Linked DNA regions of Homo sapiens: region 1 is linked to region 2. The links are contacts of gene promoters, found by promoter capture Hi-C in human tissues and cell types (Jung and others, 2019). All regions are on one chromosome and are shown on one strand. Each heading gives the region's core, a stretch centred on a gene start or on the middle of the fragment in contact. The rest is flanking DNA. Distances are from core to core; before and after follow the strand shown. Region 1 holds the start of LOC101929408 (a long non-coding RNA gene). Region 2 holds the start of CSPG4 (chondroitin sulfate proteoglycan 4).

What was found. Contacts are between HindIII fragments. The study calls those that stand out against the background at their distance.
Region 1: a fragment that was not itself captured here is called in contact with the fragment with the promoter of CSPG4 in region 2 in 7 of the 25 tissues and cell types used here (aorta, dorsolateral prefrontal cortex, heart left ventricle and 4 more).

Annotation. Positions count from the first base shown.
Region 1 is chr15:75,757,511-75,761,957 of GRCh38, forward strand. It overlaps LOC101929408 (a long non-coding RNA gene), which reads left to right and starts at 1,032. Exons shown (of 4, transcript XR_932487.3): 1 at 1,032-1,117. The HindIII fragment of the contact is 5,413 bases long and covers 1-4,447 here.
Region 2 is chr15:75,711,528-75,715,644 of GRCh38, forward strand. CSPG4 (chondroitin sulfate proteoglycan 4) reads right to left here and starts at 1,321. Exons shown (of 10, transcript NM_001897.5): 1 at 1,141-1,321. The coding sequence starts at 1,228. The HindIII fragment of the contact is 20,321 bases long and covers 1-4,117 here.

The DNA of each region.
Region 1 (4,447 bases), core at 816-3,315, 47 kb after region 2:
TGGATTTGACCAACTGTGCATCAAAAATATTTGGAAAAAGTAAAATAAAAAAACAAATTTAAAAATACTTCATACAGCTATTTACAAAGCATTTACGTTGTATTAAGTATTATAGTAATCTAGAGGTGATTTAAAGTCTACGGAAGGATGTGCATAGGTTATATGCAAATACTATGCCATATTATATCAGAGCATCTGTGAATTTTGGTATCTCTGGGGTCCTGGAACCAATATCCTGAGGTTTCTAAGGGACAACTGTATTCAATTTCTTCTCTGGTTATTAGTCTATTCTCTAATGTATTTTTGTTGTTGTTTTGTCTTTTTGTTTTTGCCTCTTCAAGTCAATGTCGGAAACTTAGTTGTTTTAGACAACCCATTAGCTCAGAGCTACCAGTAAGCAGACTACCACTGCAATCTAAGCAACGGATTTTTTCCCCCATCAGACTGGCAAAAAATAAGCATCTATTGATGTTGAAATTGTAGGGAGTTTTCCTGAGCATGTTAATTATGACAGCCCTTTTTGCTAGGCACCTACACAATTCATCAAAATGAAATAAAACACCCATGCACTTGAAGAAGTTATCTGGTTATTTCCTTATCTGGGTGCTGGTTATGTGAGGTCTACAGTTAATGAACACTTATTAAGCTTTATATTTCTAATAGGTACAATTTTCTGCATGTGTAGTAGATTTCAATAGTTTTTAAAATGTCTTTTGCCGCAGCCCGCAGCTGTGTATAATGCTATTCGCTTAACAGTGGAAAACATGGCAATGACCTGAATCCCCCTGGCTCCCGGGATCCTACCCCCTTAAGTTAAACAAATGAAATAACTTCCACTGTCTTTCCTAATGTCTTAATTCGGTCCTCAGTTAAACTGGCGGTGGGCGCTGCTTTTTTTCCAGGGAAGGATTCTGGAAGACATAGGAGGAGACGCCAGCATTTCGCCCTCCAGCACCTCCTGCGGGCTGTGGTCCGCTTCCGGCCTCACTCGAGCAGACCCCGCCCTCCCAGAGGCCGTTTGTCCAAGTCACGTGATCGTCGAATCTGTTGACCTGGCGCCACCGGAAAAAGAAATTCCCGGGCCCTGGCTTCTTGGCCTGATGGTGAGGCACCAGAGGTGAAGCGAGGCATGGGCTGCTGGAGCGGGAATGAGGGGGCGACAGTGGCTCCGGAAACGGGGGGAGGGTGTCTTCACTGGCCTCTCCGCAAACACAGTGTGTGCGGGTGTGAGGGCTGCAGGTCTGGTAGAGAAGAGTCCACCGCCATCCCGCTCCTGAGACGGGGGCAGGAGTGGGGGGCAGGAGTGGGGGGGCGGGTAAGACAGAGCAGGCCGGCCGGCTTGTGGAGGGCGAGGCAGGCAGATCCCTTGAGCTCAGGAGTTTGAGACCAGACTGGGCAACATGGCAAAACCCCATCTCTACTAAAAATACAAAAAATTAGCTGGGCATGGTGGCACATGCCTGTAGTCCCAGGTAGTTAGGAGGCTAGGGTGGGAGCACTGCTTGAGCCCAGGAAGTAGAGGCTGCAGTGAGCCGAGATCATGATGTCACTGCACTCCAGCCTGGGCAACAGAGTGGGACCCTGTCTCAAAAAATAAAAATAAAGTGGAAGCATCAGTATGCATGATTGAAGTCATGCTTTCCATCTATTTTTTTCCACCTTCCCTTTTTTCTGTCTAAAACATTGTATCTTAAGCTTTTGCCTATGTTATCAAGTACTCATAAGCATTATTTGAATGGTTGTATCATAATCCATTATCTGGACTCATTGTCATTTATCCATCTGCAGTTGCTGGAGATACTGCCCTTTCTGCCACACTCAGTCACCCTTCTGACCTTGCACTGTGTCCAGTTATCTACTAATACCCATACTGGTCATTTAGGACTTAAGAATAGTTATCATAGTTTTTAACATTCCAAAAAGAATGTGTCTTCCTAAAAATAGAATGGCTTGGTGGTTATACTTTTAAAGCAAAATAGACAAAGCCATGTTGAAATTAATGTTTTATTTTCTTCTTGTATCTATTTTCACTTCTCTTGTCATTTTGATGGATAAAGTTTCATTTGGAAGGATTTTTATTTCAAAACAGAAATAGCATATGACATGAGAAGGGGAACTCTGAAAGGTTCAACTTCCTAGTTTACTAAGTTTGTCACAAAAGCTACTGATAGTCAATCATGATTGGCCTGTATTGAAAGTGAGTTAACATTATGTACAACTTAAGCACTATACTTTCTATCCGATACAGAAAAATAGGTGGTGTGTTTGGAAAAGTATTGGGCTAGGAGTCAGGAAGCTTGATTGTTAGTCTCAACCCTGCTTCTTGAGCTGAGCACCCCTAGGCAATAATTCAGCAGCTATTTCTTAAATACCTAAATGAATTTCAGGCTTTGTGGTTGGGCTGGGAATATAGACATAGATACTGCATTCATGATTCTCCAAGCCTCCCTTCTTCACCCCGGCTCACAGTGAGCTTTCTTATGCATTGTGTAAATTTGTCTCCTAACAGGCCCCAACTCTGTCTCCAACCTCCTTCCCAGGGCAGTTGTGAGGATCAGATGAGGGAGAATATGTGTGAAAGCAAATTGTAAATTATTTTAAAATGCAATAAAAATATGATCCATGGAAAATTATTTAAAGATCCTTATTAAAATTATTAAAGATCCTTAGAATTTTAAATAAACAGTACATTAGGCCGGGCATTGTGGCTTAGGAGAGCGCTGGGTCAAATCAGTCCCCTCCAGCTACGCATTGCCTGGAGCTGCTCTCCAAGGACCCCTCAGCCACAGAAGGCGCTGGTCCTCCTACAGTGCTGCCCCACCCCCACCACCACAGCCTCCTGGGGGTGCAGTCAGGGGTGCCCTCCTTCAGGCTCTGCCCCTGCACCCACTCCTACACAACTACTCTCCCTGCCGGCAGCCCCAGAGACCAGATTGGTTTGGGCCTCTGCCTCCGCAGGCCCGAACCACCATCTCTTCTGCTCCCCAGAAAGCCAGCTCCCAGCACACAGGCAGCGTTCCCTCTTCATTCCTCAACACAGAGGGCCCCTCACAACCCTCTCAGCAGATGGTAGAGCTCCCCACGCATCCTCTTAAAGAGGCTTCACCGTTGATGGCCACAAGCCCCACCATGACCTCCTCCCAGGGAGTGAATTTTCTTACATGTCTCCCACCAGAGCAGGGACAAAATAAAACATAAAAGCAGCAGCTGTTAAATTATCAGCAACATTTCCTACTAGGATCAACTCACGGAGTGGGCAGTGTATTCCATTAGGTGGATCAGTGCAGGGGTTAGCAAGCGTTTTCTGTAAAGGGCCGGATGGGAACTCTTTAAGGCTCTGCAGGCCACTGGGTCTCTGTCACCACCTACTCAAACCCTCCCCTGTAGCAAGAAAGCAGCCCTAGCAACATGTCAACAGATAAGCGTGGCCACATTCCCAGAAACCTTTCTTTATGGACATGGAAGTTTGCATCTCACGTAATTCTCATGTGTCACAAGATACGACTCTACTTTCCATGTTTTCAACCATTTAAACATGTAAAAGCCATTCTTAGCGCGTGGGCCACACAAAAGCAGGCAGCAAGAAATTTGGCCTTTACACCAACAGCAGCTGACCCCTGGATGGAGCATTAGAGCTTGGGTGTGTGTCCCACTCCAGGGCTTCCAGGAGAGGGGATGCAGGCCGATGCCACCTCCACCCCTGTCGCTCTAGGGGAGAAGGCAGAGCTGGTGCTGTATGAAGTTTGGCTGCAGATCCTGGGCCAGCCCTACACCAAGGCCTTGGAGGACAAAACCAGCCTTGAGTTCTGGGCACTTCAGGGGCAACCGACAAGATGGGTGAAGTGGCGGGATGAAGTGGGGGGGCGGGGAAGAAGCCTCGGGAAGATGGGGGATGACTGGACAAGACTTTGGTAGAGCTGTGACCCTCTTCATCCTCTCCTGACCCCCCAGCTGACCCTCGTCCTCAGATCTCTGCAGAACTTTGACCAGTGGTGGTGGAGGAATTCCGGTGGGTCCAGGGTGGCCCTGGGTGACCCAGGGCTCAGACCTGGGTTCTGGGGTTGAAGGCAGGAGGCTGGAAGAGATGACCTCCCTTAGGCCCCCCAGGCTGCCCAGCCCCCTGAAGTGGGATGATCCTCCCACCAGGCTGGACCCACTGACCGTCAGAGTGGGTGCCACCTTCTTCAGGGCGGCATCAGCCCAGGCTCTCGTGTGGGTCTGCACACCCTGGGGGAGGCAGAGGGCCTCTTGGTAGACACGGTCATCTCAGACCTCGGTCAGTACCTCCTTCCCTCTGCAGGCCCCCTCCCTCTGTCCATCTGCCTCCTCCCTTGGGCTTGCTGCCTCTACATGCCCTGATCTGAAACCTGCCTCCCCTCCTCATGGAGCCCTCCAAGATGCTCCTAGCCCCAGCTCTCTGGTCCCGCAGCAACTTCTGGTGCCAGAT
Region 2 (4,117 bases), core at 71-2,570:
GAACAGGGAGCCTGGAGATCCAGCCCTGATTCACCCCGCGGGGGTCCTCCCTTGACTCACTTCCCTTCTGGGAACCATGTGATGCCCTCTTTTAGAGCTGGCTTCTCCATCTGAAGGAGAGAAGGGTGTGGCCTGGGCCCTTGTGAAGGAGGCTCAGGCCCTGCCTTTGCTCCATGTTGCTCTTGGGAATGATCTCGAAGGTGTAGCTGAAGCACTGAATCACACGTGGGTAGTGATGATGGATGGGCCCTAAGGCCACAGTTCTTATGGCATAACTAGAGCTGCCTTCGCTGAAGGAAGAATGCTGTCATGTTGGGGTTTCTGGCATCGGGACAGAGAGGGGATATATCCCAGCACTTCTCGGAAAGCGAACTTCCATTCAGCCTCTGCTGGGTCAGGCATCAGTGCTGGGATGAGGAGGTGTGGCAGGGGGTGGTCCAGAGCTATCTGTAGGACAAGCCCCGCTGAGGGGCACCAGCTCTCCCTCTAGGAGGCTGAGAGTGGGTAGTGGGTGGGGGGTCCTGCCTGTCACCAACAGGAGGAGGGAGAGGAGAGAATGAAGAGGGGAGGTGGCAGATAGACGGATCTGCAAGGAAGCAAGGGGAGGAAAGAAGGGGCAGAGCTGGGGGGCAGCTGGAGGGGTGTGGGGGTGCTCCTCACAGGGGAGGGCAGGGTGGCTCATTCCTCGTTTCCCACCTTGTAGCACTCCCCATTCCTGGCCCAGGGCATCTGAAGCTGGAGGACCCACTTCTCACTGTCGCCGGGTCCCTTTGGACCCCAACATACTCACCCCAAACTTGCCTGGCAAACAAAGCTCGGCCAGCATTGGGGTGGCCCCACTGGTGTCTCAGACAATCCAAACGGGCAAAGCCACGCCCTAGGCAATCCATGCCTGGGGCGCCTGCTCCCGCCCCTAACTGGACAGCCTTGGCTAGCTAGAAACCCCATAACCTGAGATAGCGGGGTCCCGTGTCCGCCCCAGGATTGAACCCCTGGCGACCCCAGCTAGTGGTGGGAGAAGCGCAGCCTGCTTGACTCCCGATCTGGGGGCCACTTCTGGCTCCTCCTGTCCCTTTTCCCTCCCGGAGGAACCCCTCTAGTTCCGCCAGGCTGGGTCGGGGTCTCAGGCCCCTCACTCACCCGCGGATGCAAGTCTGGCCAACATAGTCAGGGTCAAAGCCAAGGCCAGGCCGGGGGCTGGAAGTGGGGGCCGCGGCCCGGACTGCATCCCGGCGGGCTGGGCGGCAGGACTTGCGAGGAGCCAGCGGAGTCCTGGGAGCTGGGAGCTGAGTGGAGCGAGCGCGGCTCTGCTCCTGGGCGCGGGCCGGCTCCGGGTGTCCGCGCACTTAACTCCGGGGGCGGGGCAGGCGCAGACCCGCGCGCCCGCTCGGGTTTCAGGCTTGGACTCCCCCACCTGCCCCCACCCTCAACCTTCTTAAAGGGCCCGTGCGGGGCTGTTCCTCTCTGGGGCAGGGGTGAGGGGGCCCTTGCAGCTGGGCCAGACCCCAGCCCCACCCTAAAGACTTAGAACAAAGTCATAGAGAGGCCCAGACACCCTGAACTCTGGCCCCAAGAGCCGAGCCCGGGAGACCCCCTCAGGGAGGAGGCATGAACTGTCCCAGCCCCTACTTCCCTCCTTTCTGCCTTTGCGGGAGTTCAGGAGACCCCTCCACAGGCACACTCCAGCCTTAGGAGGAAGGACAGACACCAGCCACCCTCACAGGCGGCTTTTGGGCTGCTTTGCCTCGGAGGTCCCCTAGGAACTTCTCCAGACTCCAGAGGCACCACCCGAGGTCCTGTGGGGCACTGCCCATGGCTGCAACAGTGACCTTCTCTGCCTGGAAGGGCCTCACCTCAGTCTCCCTGTCTGTAAGGGAGAGATGTCTGGATTTCCTCGCAGGGCAGAAGAATTCTCAGTCCCGCCATGACATTTGCCTCAAAATAACCTTGCAAGGTGGGTGAGGAGCATCCCCTCCCCCATTTCATGGAGGACGAAAGTGCAGCTCAAGCTGAAAGTGGCTCTTACAAGACTCCAGGTGGAAAGTAGGTCCCTGGCCGTTTGGTGCCAGAAGCCCAGGCCTCCTGACCCCTGAATCCGGGTGTTTCAACTTCCCGAGGCTGCCTCCTGGAAATCTGGCCCTGGATTTGGCTTCTACCTAACAGCTTCAGGCTGGGGCCCTTCTGCTGGCTCCCTTCCAGGCAGCAACATCAGCCTAGTCCCAAACAGGAGGAGAAAGGGCAATGTTACTTAGCTTCCGGTGCCTAGAGGATCTGCGTGTTCTCTGTCCAGTCCCAATGTTACCGGGCCTTGGTTTACTTCCTCCATTCAGGTCCCTCCATCTATCTGCTCCAGCCCATCTCCAGCCCAACCCCACCTTGCACCCTCTTCCCAGCTCTTCCCTTTGACCAGTAACAGCCCAGCACTTCATACTTTGCAACGAAACTGAGACCTGTTTTGCAGATGAAGAAACTGAGGCTGAGAGAGATTAAGGGACTGGAGCTAGTCTACATAGCTGCTGAGATGTGGGGCCAGGTCTTTGACCCTAAGTGCAGTGCTCAGGTGTGATGGTGCCTGGTCCATGTGGGGGTTATGAGTATTGGTCTTGAAACCAGAGAGACCTGGGTTCAAATCCCAGCTCCCTTACTTGGTTGTCAAACCTTGAACAAGTCCCCTCACCTCTCTGTGGCAGTTTCCTCATTTGTAAAATTGGGTTAATGAGGATTAAATGCTTTAATGTACCTCAAGTCCCTAGCCCAGGGCCTGGCATACGGTAGGTGCTCAATAAATGCTTATCCTTTCTCCTCCGTCTCTGTCATCCTGCACATTCCCTGTGATTCATGGTTTACATACAGCTTTACACATATCACCTCCCTTGTTGTAAAGCTTGAACTTTCTCCTCCAGAGGCTGCTGCATACAGTAGGTGTACAATAAATGCCTGCTGTAGTTGACTAAGAAACCAATTGCTGCTGTTCTGTAGGGATTTTGGCAAACCTAAGAGCTTCCATCCAGGTGCCCTAGGAGGCCTGGGATGGAGGCTGTGCTAGGCTGGCCTCAGTGGCGGTAAAGGCATTGATTCCACAATTTGTCCCTTGTTTTTTTTTTTTTTTTTTTTGAGACAGAGTCTCGCTCTGTTGCCCAGGCTGGAGTGTAATGGCGCGATCTCGGCTCACTGCAACCTCTGCCTCCCGGGTTCAAGCGATTCTCCTGCCTCAGCCTCCTGAGTAGCTGGGATTGCAGGTGTGCACCACCATGCCTGGCTAATTTTTGTATTTTTAGTAGAGATGGGGTTTCACCATGTTGACCAGGCTGGTCTTGAACTCCTGACCTCGTGATCTGCCCGCCTCAGCCTCCCAAAGTGCTGGGATTACAGGTGTGAGCCACCGCGCCCGGCTGTCCCTTGTTTTTCCTTCTCCTCAAGTCGGTAGGACACCTGGTCCTCATTAGGGGCTAATTACTGACAAGCTATGGGGCTGGGGGTGGGGGTGCTGCTTGGAAGACTGTGTTTGGAGGAAAAGAGCTTTCTTTTCAGGAATGAAAAAATAAGACAGAAGGCTTTTTGCTCTATGAATCAAAAATCTGGGTGAAGATCTCTGCTGGCCCCATCTCCCCCCCCCACCCCCTCCCCATCTTCCCTGCTCCCCACCTACACAGATGTCTGTGGAGCCTCCAGACAGGGTGCTCCCACCCACAGCTGAGATTCAAGTCTGGATTAGCTGGGAGCCTCCCCCTGCCTTGTTGCTAGCTGGGCAGAGAAACACAGGCCTGGAAAATAATGGCAACCAGCACAGCGGTAATAACCCGGCTGGCGCATCTCTGCTGGGGCTTCCCAGTTTACAAAAAACATTCACTTGGTCTCTTGACAACTTTGGGAAGCGTATGTGTTGGCCAACTGTGTCCCTGCTTCCAGATGAGGAAACTGAGGCTCTCAGTGGAAAAGGGATGCTGCGGCTCCAGCGCACACAGGCCTGGCCTTTGCTCAGCCGTAACCTAGGGCTGGAACTCCGGACCAATGCTGAGCAGCATCATGCCAGGCAGACTGGCAGAAAGTCGAGGTCCCTGTGTGCCTTTGGAACTGACCCCTGACCACCTCCCACTGTCTTGGAACAAAGGCTGCT